Linked DNA regions of Homo sapiens: all the other regions are linked to region 1. Evidence: promoter capture Hi-C in 16 types of primary human blood cells and fetal thymus (Javierre and others, 2016). All regions are on one chromosome and are shown on one strand. The core of a region is centred on a gene start or on the middle of the fragment in contact, and the rest is flanking DNA. Distances in the headings are between cores, read along the strand shown. Region 1 holds the start of DUSP22 (dual specificity phosphatase 22). Region 2 overlaps EXOC2 (exocyst complex component 2). Region 3 overlaps EXOC2 (exocyst complex component 2).

Region 1 (3,681 bases), core at 1,182-3,681:
CCTTGCCTGGGCTGAATGCCCCTTCTAGGTCACTTTCATCCCATCTTCTGCTTTCCCCACTTTTCTGAAATTGCCTATTTTATCCTCTGGAGCCTCTACTCCTCCCTACCTTGTGTTTGTTCTCTCTCTCACCCCCACACACATACACACCCTGTGTTGTGCAACACAGCAGCCATTAGCCACAGTGACTATCGAGTACTCCAAATGTGGCTAGTCCAAAATGAGATGTGATTTAGGCATAAAATACACACTAGACTTTGAAGGTTAAGTGATCTGGGGGTCCCGAGATTTTTCCTTTCACAAAGACATAGTAAAAAACATGGAATCTTCCATGAATAACTTTATATATTGGTTACATGTTGAAACAATAGTTTTAATATATTGTTAAATAAAATATATTATTAAAATTAATTTCACCGGTTTATTTTTTAATGTGGCTACCGGAACATTTTAAGTTACATATATAGCTCGCATCATATTAGTGCTGGACAATGCTGACCTGTACTGAAGGTTCTGTGAAGAATCTTTGGGTCATTTACCACTGTACTCCCTTTGCCCCCTCCCCACCCACTAGCACAACACCTGGCTCATAGTATGTACATAATCAATAAGTGTTGAAGCAGGGAAGTCTCTAAATCTCTCTATACATGTATTTCTTCATTGATACACTGTGAGTCTCTATTCACAAGATAATAAAAGTCAAGAAATTTATTACCCATTTTGAAAGGTAAAAAGTATATGAATATTACTGCTTTTGTTGAAAAGCATGAAAATAACGTTGATCCCTTAGGCAACCATCTGTATTCCTAAATATATTTTTTGAATTGTATTACACAAATACTATAAATTAAATGCTGAAAACGGTGGAGAGTGAACAGCTCAAGTGGGAAAACTAGAAACAGCCAAAGGAAAGCTGAGATACCACCACCAATGGGAAGGCAAACGGAGCCCACAGACTTATGATGACCATCTTTATTGTTCTGTTTTAATTTAAAAAGCAGAAGGCTCGTGGTGCTGATGGATTCCAGTGCTCATCGGAATATAATACAAGTATTTATCCAAGAGAGAGACAGTCTGTTTCCAAACTTGATCACTCGCCAAAAAAAAAAAAAAAAAAAAAGTGAATACAATTCTCTTTACCAAAATACCCCAGTATTGATATGCAGGTCCCAAACACACAATAGTTCTTTCACAAACTGGGTAACCAGGACACAATAAACACGACATGCGCACGTGAAAAGTTAGCTAGGTTTTCCCTGCCCTACCGTGAATCCGCATTTGCAACACTCCAGCCCCAACACCCAAACCACTGCTGACCCAGTGCTGAGGGACATGAAAAAAAACACAGCCACATTGCCATCCCCACCCAGTGTGGAAGCTGACGGCATGTAGAGATGTGGGTGGGTGGAGCGCAATGAAAAAGTGAAGCAGAAAGACGACTCATCTAATCCAGGACCATTCAAAGACCCGTAAAAAGGTACTTGTCTTTGTTGCGGGCTTTGTAAAGTCTTGTCAATCCTTCCTCGAAACCAGCCAAGTACCAAGTAACAAAATCCTTAACCCTGTGGTTCACATGAATACACCCCGGCAACTCTCAGCTGCCAGAGCTGGAATCTGGCAACTTCCCTGGACGGGAAAGGCTAGCCCACCGCCCGGGAAGTGAGGTGCGGGCAACAAAAGAACACAGGGTGGGGCCCAGAAACGGACGGGACAAATGGAGCAACACAGATTTTCCAGAAGGCCTCATCAGCGCAAGCAGCCAGCAACAGGTTGCCCTTGTTGCAGAAGTCACATAACCTAATCAACTCTGAATCTTTTCTCTCCTCCCCACTATCTAGAAACAGCTCAGGACTTAGGACTCTGTTAACTTCTCTGTCCACAAGAAAAACTTCTCTGTGCTCACAGGCACACACACAGAATCTGAGGAGAAAGAGGAAATTACAGAGGACACCCGTTTACTAATGATGTGGGGGGGGCGGTGGTGGCTTCAAGAGCGTAGTTTGGGAGCGAAGAGGAGGGCAAAAAAGAAGCCACATCCATTCGGAGCTCAGCTGACCTCTCGGCAGAACAAGTGTCAACGCTTTCAAAGGGCGCGGCTTGTTTCAGCCACGAAAACGCACCGGCTGGCAAGGCAGGCGGCTGGGGGCTGCCTACCCGGAAGCCGGGTGGGGTGGGGGCGGGAACACCTCCGAACCCCGACTCCGCGGTCGCCGCCCAGGCGCGCCGCCCCTCCCTCCGCGCCCGTCCCCACCGCGGGAAAGGGCACCCCGGGCTCGAGTCGTCGGGCAGCCGACGCCGGCGAGACGGCAGGGCGTCGGAGCGGAGGCAAACCCAGCGCGAACGAGGGAAGACGTTACCTTGTTCATCCCATTCCCCATGGTGGCTGAAGGCGAACGCTAGCGCCCCGGCCGTGTGGTCGCAGGCGCACTATGGCATGTTACAGGGAGGAGGAGCGGCGGGGCGGGCGGGGAGGAGGCGCGCGGGAGGGACTGAGTGCTCGCAGTGTCAACAAGTCAGCGGCAGGGACCGGCCGGGCAACCCAGGGCGCTCCAGAGACCCGGCGTGGAGGGCAGGGCTTTCTGTGCGGCGGCCTAGAACTTCCCGGCGGGAGCCGGGCAGGGGCACCGGAGCCTATGCCGGGAAATGGTCCCGCCTTGCCGGTCCCCGCCCCCGTGCGCACCGGGCAGGCCCAGCGTCCCTCCTCGCTCCGCCCGCCCGCACCCTGGGATTCGTAGTCGGGTTCCTGGCTGCCGCGCCCCACTCCGCCCTCGCGGACCCCGGCTCGCGGCCGCCGGGCGTGGGAGGCACTAGGCTCGGGCTCCCAGGCGGCCGGCCCCGGAGGCCAGAGCGCGTGCGCGGCCCGAGCCGCCCCGCCGGGACACCCGAGGCTGCGCGGCGGGGCCTGGCGGACGCGCAGGCGCTGCCCTGACCGGGCGGCTGCGCTCGTCTCGGAGCCCGCTCCCCGGCCGGGGGTCTCCAGATCCCCCTTTGGCCTTTTCCCCTGGGGCGACTCCGGGGGCCAGTTACCAGCAGTCGCTACCCAGCCTTGGCTGCCTCCGTGAATCAGGTGCTAATCAGAGGCCTGGTCTCTGGGGGCTCCCCTGCCTGGGTTTTCTGAGTGCGGCAGATTTAGGCTGGGGGATTTCCTGCGGCCCTGCCCCATGCACCAAGACCGAGAAGCCTCGCCTGGTGGGGAGAGGTGGGCTACGTGACTCACCCCGGGGAGGCCCGACCTCCCTACCCTGGGGGAGCAGATGGCTGGATCTCTGACCTCAGACCTCACGGCCTTAGATGATGTGTGTCCCTTAATGTCTGCATTGTGGTTCTGTCTGGAATGGATCAATTTCTAAACTGTAGCAGAATTGTTTTGGGTGTTCTATCAACGTTATTAAACTCTGAAGTTTCTCTCCAGCGACAGAATCCTTGAGCCAGTGGTTTTTCTTCTTAATTTATGTATCCTCAACAATGTCCTGAACATAGTAGGTGCTTAATAAATATTTGCTGAATGAGTACATGCGTCAATCTGACGTGCCCTGGCTCACCCCTGCTGACTTCATTTTATCTTCTTGCTAAGCGAGTTACACACATGCTGGTCTCCTGTCTGTTCCTTGAGCCTGTCAGGCTTGCTGGGCTGTGCTCTCTATCCAGACACCTGGATCCCCAGCTCTCTGCATACCTGCC
Region 2 (3,748 bases), core at 45-2,544, 270 kb before region 1:
CGCATCTTCTCCGTTGTTTCACTCAGTATTACTCTGACAGTACAGTCCCAGTTGTGGTCTGTTTCTGTTTTCAGCCTAATGCTGTAGCTCGTAAGCTCCGTGAGGAATGATTATACAGTGAAAGAGATGCTAGGGATTGCTTTGCGATCCCACTCTGCTCACTTCTGTTTGGATGTGTTTGTTCGCAGACTTACTCATGAATCGTTGACTGCCCTTGAAATTCCTAATGACCTGTTACAGACTATCCAGGATCTCATCTTGGATCTCCGAGTACGTTGCGTAATGGCCACGTTGCAGCACACGGCGGAAGGTGTGTTTTGATAAATCGGTGACGTTCACTGTGCAATGATTATCTGAATGTGCCACCTCCTTTCAGTGTCCAAATCCTTGAAAACAAGGGAAAATTACTCTTCTGGAAATTGGAATATATTAGTTCATCTTATTTCTAGCTGCTCAATAAGTGTTTTTTCTTTTTGTGATGTATTGTTGAGAATTAAGACCATGCAGAAACTAAGATGGATACACTTGAAAATGTTTAAAGATATAAGAATATTGTTATGATAAATGTTAAGTAGAAAACATAGGGTATAAAATGTACATAAAGTCTGATCTCACTTTTGAAAATATATGGATGTATATTTTTAAATTTTAATTTACAGAAATCAATGTCCAATCAAAGGAAACTCTGTTAGTGTTGGTTCTCTGGATTCCAGAAATTATAGATGATTCTTGTTTTCTTTATACTTTTTAAATTTTTCAGGCTTTTCTACATAAAATCATAAAAAAACCATAAAGGTTTTCTTTACAAAGCAGCCTTTTAGTTATTAAATATTTTCAAAAATAAGAACATTGCTAAAATGGCACAGGCCTTTACTATCTACTACCAGGCTTGGCTTTTTAGGTAGGAAGCTTACATCTCTGCAAAATTGGTGGGCGATACTGTGTAAATGGGAAGGGAATGGAACCCAGGTGAGAAGTTGGATATTCCCCTCTTAGTTGATTACCTCCTCCTCACCTAGGAACCTGAGCCTGCCCCAAGGCCGAAGGTTTGAGCAGGTGGCATTCCCTTAGCCAACTGAGAATCATATTGCCCTTGTCAGGAATCTGTAGGATTCAAAAAACAGCCAAATTACTCATCAGAAATTTTAGGAAAAAAAATACTGTATGACTTATTTTGTACATGCCTAGTGTTGTGAAGAATCCTGAATAAGTAATAAATGATTGTCTCAAGTTGTCATTAAATCCAACGTAGAATTCCCCAAATTGGGCTATACAGTAAAAACTTTTATTCACATTAATATCTTAGTAGAATCATCCAGTGAACAATATGTACTTAAATCATCAAGTCTACCAAAATTATATTCTTTGCCTACTTTCATCGAGTTTTTACAAACCTATATAAAACAATGAAAAACCATAACCTGTATACATTTTTAATCTGTATAAAATTTAGTGAGATAATTATAATAAAGTATTTGTGTGCTTCTTCTCATATAGAAATAAAGAGATTAGCTGAAAAAGAAGACTGGATTGTTGACAATGAAGGACTGACTTCTCTAGTAAGTTTAAGTTCTTTTCAATTATTAGTCATTAGTGTGTATTTAAAATAAATAGTTTATCATATTAATAGGGAGCATGTGCTCCATGTGTTGCAGCTCTAAATAGAAATAGAAGCTTCTTAAAGGTTTTCTTCTCAGAGACATTTTTGCTTAACACGAACCATAAATATTGAAAAATTAATGAGAACAATGCGTTTCTTTTAGACTTGACCTTTTTCATCCTGTATAACTTACGATTTTTGTTTGAATTAGTTTTTTAAAAACAGAGTATGCTCAATTCTAAATTACTCAGCAACTTGAGCTTTTCCGGAAAGCAGGATAGAAGAGATGACGTTGCTGGCTCCAAAGCCAAAACAAACCAAACAAACAAAAACAACCACCACAGACCACTGCAGATACATTCTCAGGCCAGGCAGCCAACTGTGACCTGTTTCTAGAATCTTCATCTTTTCAGCTGGGACTTTTAGGTTTAAAAATCATCTTCATGATTTCACGGGTTTTCACACTTGTCTCACGGGTGCCCCTCGCGGTCCTGTGGGTGGCTGTGCCAGTGACGATGGCCAGGCAGCGGCCGACACATCCCAGTGGCTTTCACCAGGGGGGGACTTCTGTCTCTCACAGCAGCCTGGCAGCGTGGTCACACAGTCAGTGCCCAGGGCTGCCTCCATCCTTCTTCCCTGTGACCCTTCACACTGCCTTCTACTCAGGCTGGCCTCGGGGTCACTCGTGGCCTGGCTGCTGTCAGGAAGAAAGTCCAGTCCCCTCCCAGGAGCCATAACTTGCAACTCTCCTCCATCTAATTGGTCAGAACACATTCCATGCCTGTCCCTGTTGGCAACAGAGGTCGGGAGAGCACGTGGCTGCTCCTGTTTTCTGTCTTACCTTATTAAGAAAAAAGGATAGGCTGGGTGCGGTGGCTCACGCCTATAATCCCAGCACTTTTGGAGGCCGAGGTGGGCGGATCATGAGGTCAAGAGCGAGACCATCCTGGCCAACATGCTGAAACCCCGTCTCTACTAAAAATACAAAATTTTGCTGGGCATGGTGGTGGGCGCCTGTAATCCTAGCTACTCAGGAGGCTGAGGCAGGAGAATCACTTGAACCCAGGAGGCAGAGATTGCAGTGAGCCGAGATCGCGCCACTGTACTCCAGCCTGGTGACAGAGCGAGACTCTGTCAAAAAAAGAAAAAAAGATAGCAATCCTAGGAGGCAACTAGCAGTTTCTGCCTCAGATAAGGAAACTAGAATGAAATGGTCTTGACTTGCCCAGATTTACAAACCAGTGATGAGTCAGGCTATCAGGAAACAATGATCCTGCACAGTATTTTTAAATTCCCTTGAATTTCTATATAGTCGTGCCTTGGTATCCTCAGCGAAGGCTGGTTCCAGATCCCTTCATATACCAAGATCTGAGGACTCTCAAGCCCCTAAAAGTTGGCTTTCTATATCCTTGGACTCTCTATCCAGCCAGTTCCACCATTGGTGGAATTCACAGAGGCAGAACCTGGGGCATGAAGGGCAGACTGTACTTCTCATGGACTGTCTTCTGGGGGCTGGGGAATTTTTGACTCATTCTATTCCTCCAAAGTTCAAGGTCCTATCTTAAGTTAATATATCATTGTACCTTACTTTATATATAACAAGGTGATTTAGAAAAGCAATGCTTTTTTGCAAATTAAATCATGCTTGAAATGAGTTAGGGAAGTTTATTATTTTTAATAAGTCAATTAAGATTCTATTTTAAATGCTTTATTTTTAATAAAAATATTTTAATTGGGCCGGGTGCTGTGGCTCATGCCTGTAATCCCAGCACTTTGAGAGGCTCAGGCGGGCGGATCACCTGAGGTCAGGAGTTCGAGACCAGCCTGACCAACATGGTGAAACCCTGTCTCTACTAAAAATACAAAAATTAGCCAGGCACGGTGGTACATGCCTGTAATCCCAGCTACCTGGGAGGCTGAGACAGGGGAATCACTTGAACCCGGGAGGCAGAGGTTGCAGTGAGCCGAGACCGCGCCATTGCACTCCAGCCTGGGCAACAAGAGCAAAACTCTCATCTCAAAAAAAAAAAAAGAAAGAAAATTTTAATCGATTGGGTTTCTATTCGTCACAATTATTTGTATTTAAATAGTGACTAGTCTATAGCTAATTCTCCCTCACACTAAATCTTTAGAGAAAGGTATGGACCT
Region 3 (3,882 bases), core at 359-2,858, 290 kb before region 1:
GGCTGGCTGGTATTTGGGGATTCATGAAGAGCTGCACCTGAAACTAGCCAAGCTCGATGAAGTGCTTCTGGTCTTTATTACTTTTATGCTATTTTGCTATACATAGGTGAATTCTATTAAGGAAATTTTACACAGACCTCATCACTCACTTCTAAAATTATATGTGCAATGTAAATAAATGCTCTGAGAATGAGCAAGTTAAGAAAATGGAGGTGAGTGAGAGAGCATCCAGTCCCTTAGGAGGGATCCTGGGAAATGTAAGGCTGTCCCTGGGAAGGCCCGCAGTGCCCCCATCAGAGCCAAAGGAACTCATGGCACATACATTGGATGTAAAGCTTCAGAGCCGGCAGCCTGCAGCGGATGCCACCTCTCTCTTGACTCGAGTGTGTCTGGTTATTTTCTGATGCCCGGGGCTCGGTGACAGAGTACTTACTTGTTTGCTTGGCACCTGCTGTTTCCTTGAATTGATTATAGCTGTCTACTGAAGGCTAGAGCATTTGAAAACACAATTACTACCGTAAGAAATTGCTTACAAATGATCTGCGGTAAAAGGACTGCCTACATTTTATCTGGTACTTTGTTATAAAGCTACATTGTTTTTATGCGGGTTTTCTCAGGAGCCTGCTTTTAAAATGAAAGCTTACTACATTCCAATATAAAGAAAACAAGTTTTAAGTAGTTCCTTTATTATAATATCTGTACTTAGACTACTAACACTGTAAAGTTGTTTAGGTAAATCCACTAGCAGAACAATGGATAAGAAGAAGAATAGCTTTGTGAAATGAAATGCAATTTTAAATGGATAGACTATAAATATTTCAAACGGAAAAATAATTCTTGATGTCTGTTTAAAGTAAATGTGGTCTTTGTGCATGAATCTAAGAAATCTAACATATAAATATTTTTTTAAGTCTGCTTTTTTAAAGCAAAGACTTTTGCTTTTCACTTTGGTGGTTTGGGAAAAAAATGTTAATTGTATGTAGCCCTGTGGTATTCAGAGAAAATGTTATGAGCAAAGATGGTGACAGATTTTCAGAGACAGCAGTCCTACATACAAAGCTACCTTTTTCCGAGAAAGCTCCTTTTGTAGATGAAGCATTTGGCAGCAGAGTTTGCCGTACAGTTGATAATTCTATGAGTCCTGCATTAGATCCTTGTCTGGACTCGTTTTTGTAGTAATAATATACACTGGTGCTAGCAGATGGTGCCCTTCGGAGTATAACACGAGGCCAGGACAGGAGCTCACCCTTGCACCTCACACACCTGGTCCTTTACCCCCAAACGCTCCACATGCCTCTTGCATCCTCTAACTCTGTAGCCCAAATGTGATCATTTAGGTTTTTCTAAGGGTGGAAAAAGATGGGAAAAACAAGAGCAAAACTAAGGTTAATATTTTAAAAACTCATCTTGAAACCTTCTAAATACTGATGGAAGAGTTTATGGTGTTTGTCCAGCCTGAACAGGTTAACCATTTTGCTTCTCTTCCCCTATGTTCAAAGCAGCCTTGTGTTCTGAATTGTTATACATGTTAAACTTTTACTACCTTATTAAGAAGTGTCACCCGTCTCTTAAAATTCCTGTGAAATAGGTCCAAAATTAGACTGCGTCTTCAGAGGTTTCCTGCCAGGAAAAGCCTTTGGTTAACCCCCTACTGACATTCACAAACAGGATTTTTAAAGGTGGTCTTCAAAGGTGTTTTTTTCTTTGTTCTGAATGTGAGTTAAAATATATGCTGGCTATGTCTGATAACTTAAGGGAGAAGGCATCAGGCTACTCATAGAGAAAGTGTTACCTTCTTTCAGAGATGCACTTAATTAGAACTTCTAAAAGGACATCATTAGAATTAGGGTTCAGTAGGCAACATTTAGAACATGGCCACACTGTTAAGTAAGCAGTAAGTTCTCGAGAATAGCCGCAGAGCAGAAGAAAAGACATTTATACCTGGCTCAGGTTCTCTTTGAAAACTTAGAGATGGTATGTTCCATCTGAGTGGTTTATTTCGAGTCTTCACAGTGGTGGAGCTATTATAGAAAGAAAACTGAATAACAGGCTGTGCTAAACATCTACCCTTTTAATAATTTCTGACACTCACTAGAGTATTAATTACTTGCTGAAAGAAATAAAAACATTTATGTTACTCCAAGAACCTTAAGATACACAAAGTCCATATTTTCAGTACAAGCTCATAACATACATGCATAAATCATAGTATTACAATTTATGATTTTGAATTTACATAGTATAAACTGTTATATCTTGCTATTTTAAAAAATACAGCTAGGACCTTTACGTACATATTTTATATCATTTTTACAAATATTATTGGGGTTAATATTACATATAATTCTGGTATTACCATAATGCAGGGTCAGGTAGACTTCCTGTATGCGAGATTAAATTACAGCCCCCATTAGGAAACCATTAGCAGATTCATTGAATTTTCTGTGGAACCACGCAAATAATTTCATAGTTAAAAAGTCAGTGTAAGTGTATTGTTGTATATGTGCTAAATCTTTTAATAAAATTATCATTTTAATTTTAAAGTTATCATAATAAGGTTGCACATTAGGAAGCTTCTTTTTTTATGGAGTTAATTTTCTAGAGATTTAAAAAATTGTTTCTCTCCTGAATATTGATCACAGCCTGAACCCAGGTTGAGAGAGGTTGGTTTAAAAAAAGGAAAGGCACAACTGCAGCGAGCACAGATATGAGATGCTAGTTTCTTTCCATCTTGCCCTCCCTGCAGCTCAGCACTGGGGTGGTGCCTTTGTGACCTGTGTACGGCTGCCAGTGGGCGGACCTCCAGGGAAGGCTTCTGCTGTGCACTTGTTCGTTTGCATGCTGTGATGACAGAGTTTTTCAAAATTGTCTTTGGAAGATGAAATGCTTAGTGGGGTTTTATTTACCTGCTTTAAGATGTATAAGCTGCGCTATGTATGCAGCGTATGTGCACACAGTGAGAAAGTAGATTCAGGAGAGGGAAGTGGAAGAAGTCAGTAACCTGGGACTTGAGAATTTGATTTCTTTTGGAATAGCATAGCACTCATTTGTAGATCCCCATGTAGTAAAGTAACAGCTGTTGAATATCACAAGAAAAAGTTGGATTAAGGTCTCTTTTTTTTGTGTCTCCTGTTTTGTAATAGATTCTATTCACCTTACAATGAATAATCTTTTTTAGATCACACAGGCCAAAAAGGCTATGTGAAAAGGACCTTGTCAATTTGTGATTGTAGCAGCTGGTTCTTTTCCACTGCCCTGGCTTACTGTGCATCTGGAAGAAGACTTCTGGCAGCCGGAAGTCATTTCATGTCTAAACTTGTCCCCATCCTTCATAGAAAAAAAATTTTGATGATGAATGTCAAACACACATTGAATGCTAACTTTACTTGGTAATTAAAAATACTGATAATTGTAAGTACTTTTGTTCTGTATTCTGTTATTTTTGTAATTCCTTTATATGTTCTAAGCATTTTTCTGCATGTAAATCTATATGAAACTGCTAAAAGACATAGGACTTTGACAAAAACATACATTTCATTTTGGTCATTCACTTCTCCAGCTTACTTATTACAAATATATGATTCTCACATAACTGGCCAATGGTAGCTAATAAATGCTTCTTCAAAGTTTATACCTGTAGTTTTGCTTTTAATTTACATTTCCTTTGGTGAACTCTTGCTTTGAATGATACTGAAATGCACGTCCGAAATGCTGCCTGGAGCTTGTGAAGGACAGTCCTGAGTGAGTGAGTTAACAGGGGCTTCTTAACTGTGCCTCCCTTTGTTTAATTTGGATTAAGTGATTCTCTTTAAATTAAGGAAATGCCCCTGTCAGGACTTTAAAAATGTTATATATATATACATATATATGTATATGTATACA

Evidence for each region. The method cuts DNA at HindIII sites, captures the fragments that hold promoters and counts their contacts. A CHiCAGO score of 5 or more calls a contact.
Region 2: a fragment that was not itself captured here is called in contact with the fragment with the promoter of DUSP22 in region 1 in 6 of 17 cell types (activated CD4 T cells, total CD8 T cells, naive CD8 T cells and 3 more); the score reaches 9.7 in activated CD4 T cells.
Region 3: a fragment that was not itself captured here is called in contact with the fragment with the promoter of DUSP22 in region 1 in 1 of 17 cell types (activated CD4 T cells); the score reaches 8.4 in activated CD4 T cells.

The regions. Positions count from the first base shown.
Region 1 is chr6:291,237-294,917 of GRCh38, reverse strand. DUSP22 (dual specificity phosphatase 22) reads right to left here and starts at 2,431. Exons shown (of 7, transcript NM_001286555.3): 1 at 2,358-2,431. The coding sequence starts at 2,378. RefSeq lists silencers at 1,139-1,198, 1,209-1,268, 1,148-1,304, 2,049-3,068 and enhancers at 1,699-1,958, 2,251-2,751, 2,752-3,252, 3,179-3,468. The HindIII fragment of the contact is 6,707 bases long and covers 1-3,681 here.
Region 2 is chr6:560,595-564,342 of GRCh38, reverse strand. It overlaps EXOC2 (exocyst complex component 2), which reads left to right. Exons shown (of 28, transcript NM_018303.6): 16 at 189-310; 17 at 1,498-1,559. Among named protein-coding and RNA genes, the nearest start is that of HUS1B, 95 kb to the left of the region's middle. RefSeq lists an enhancer at 1-622. The HindIII fragment of the contact is 765 bases long and covers 912-1,676 here.
Region 3 is chr6:582,734-586,615 of GRCh38, reverse strand. The region is part of intron 11 of EXOC2 (exocyst complex component 2); the gene reads left to right. Among named protein-coding and RNA genes, the nearest start is that of HUS1B, 72 kb to the left of the region's middle. RefSeq lists an enhancer at 2,746-3,882. The HindIII fragment of the contact is 1,934 bases long and covers 642-2,575 here.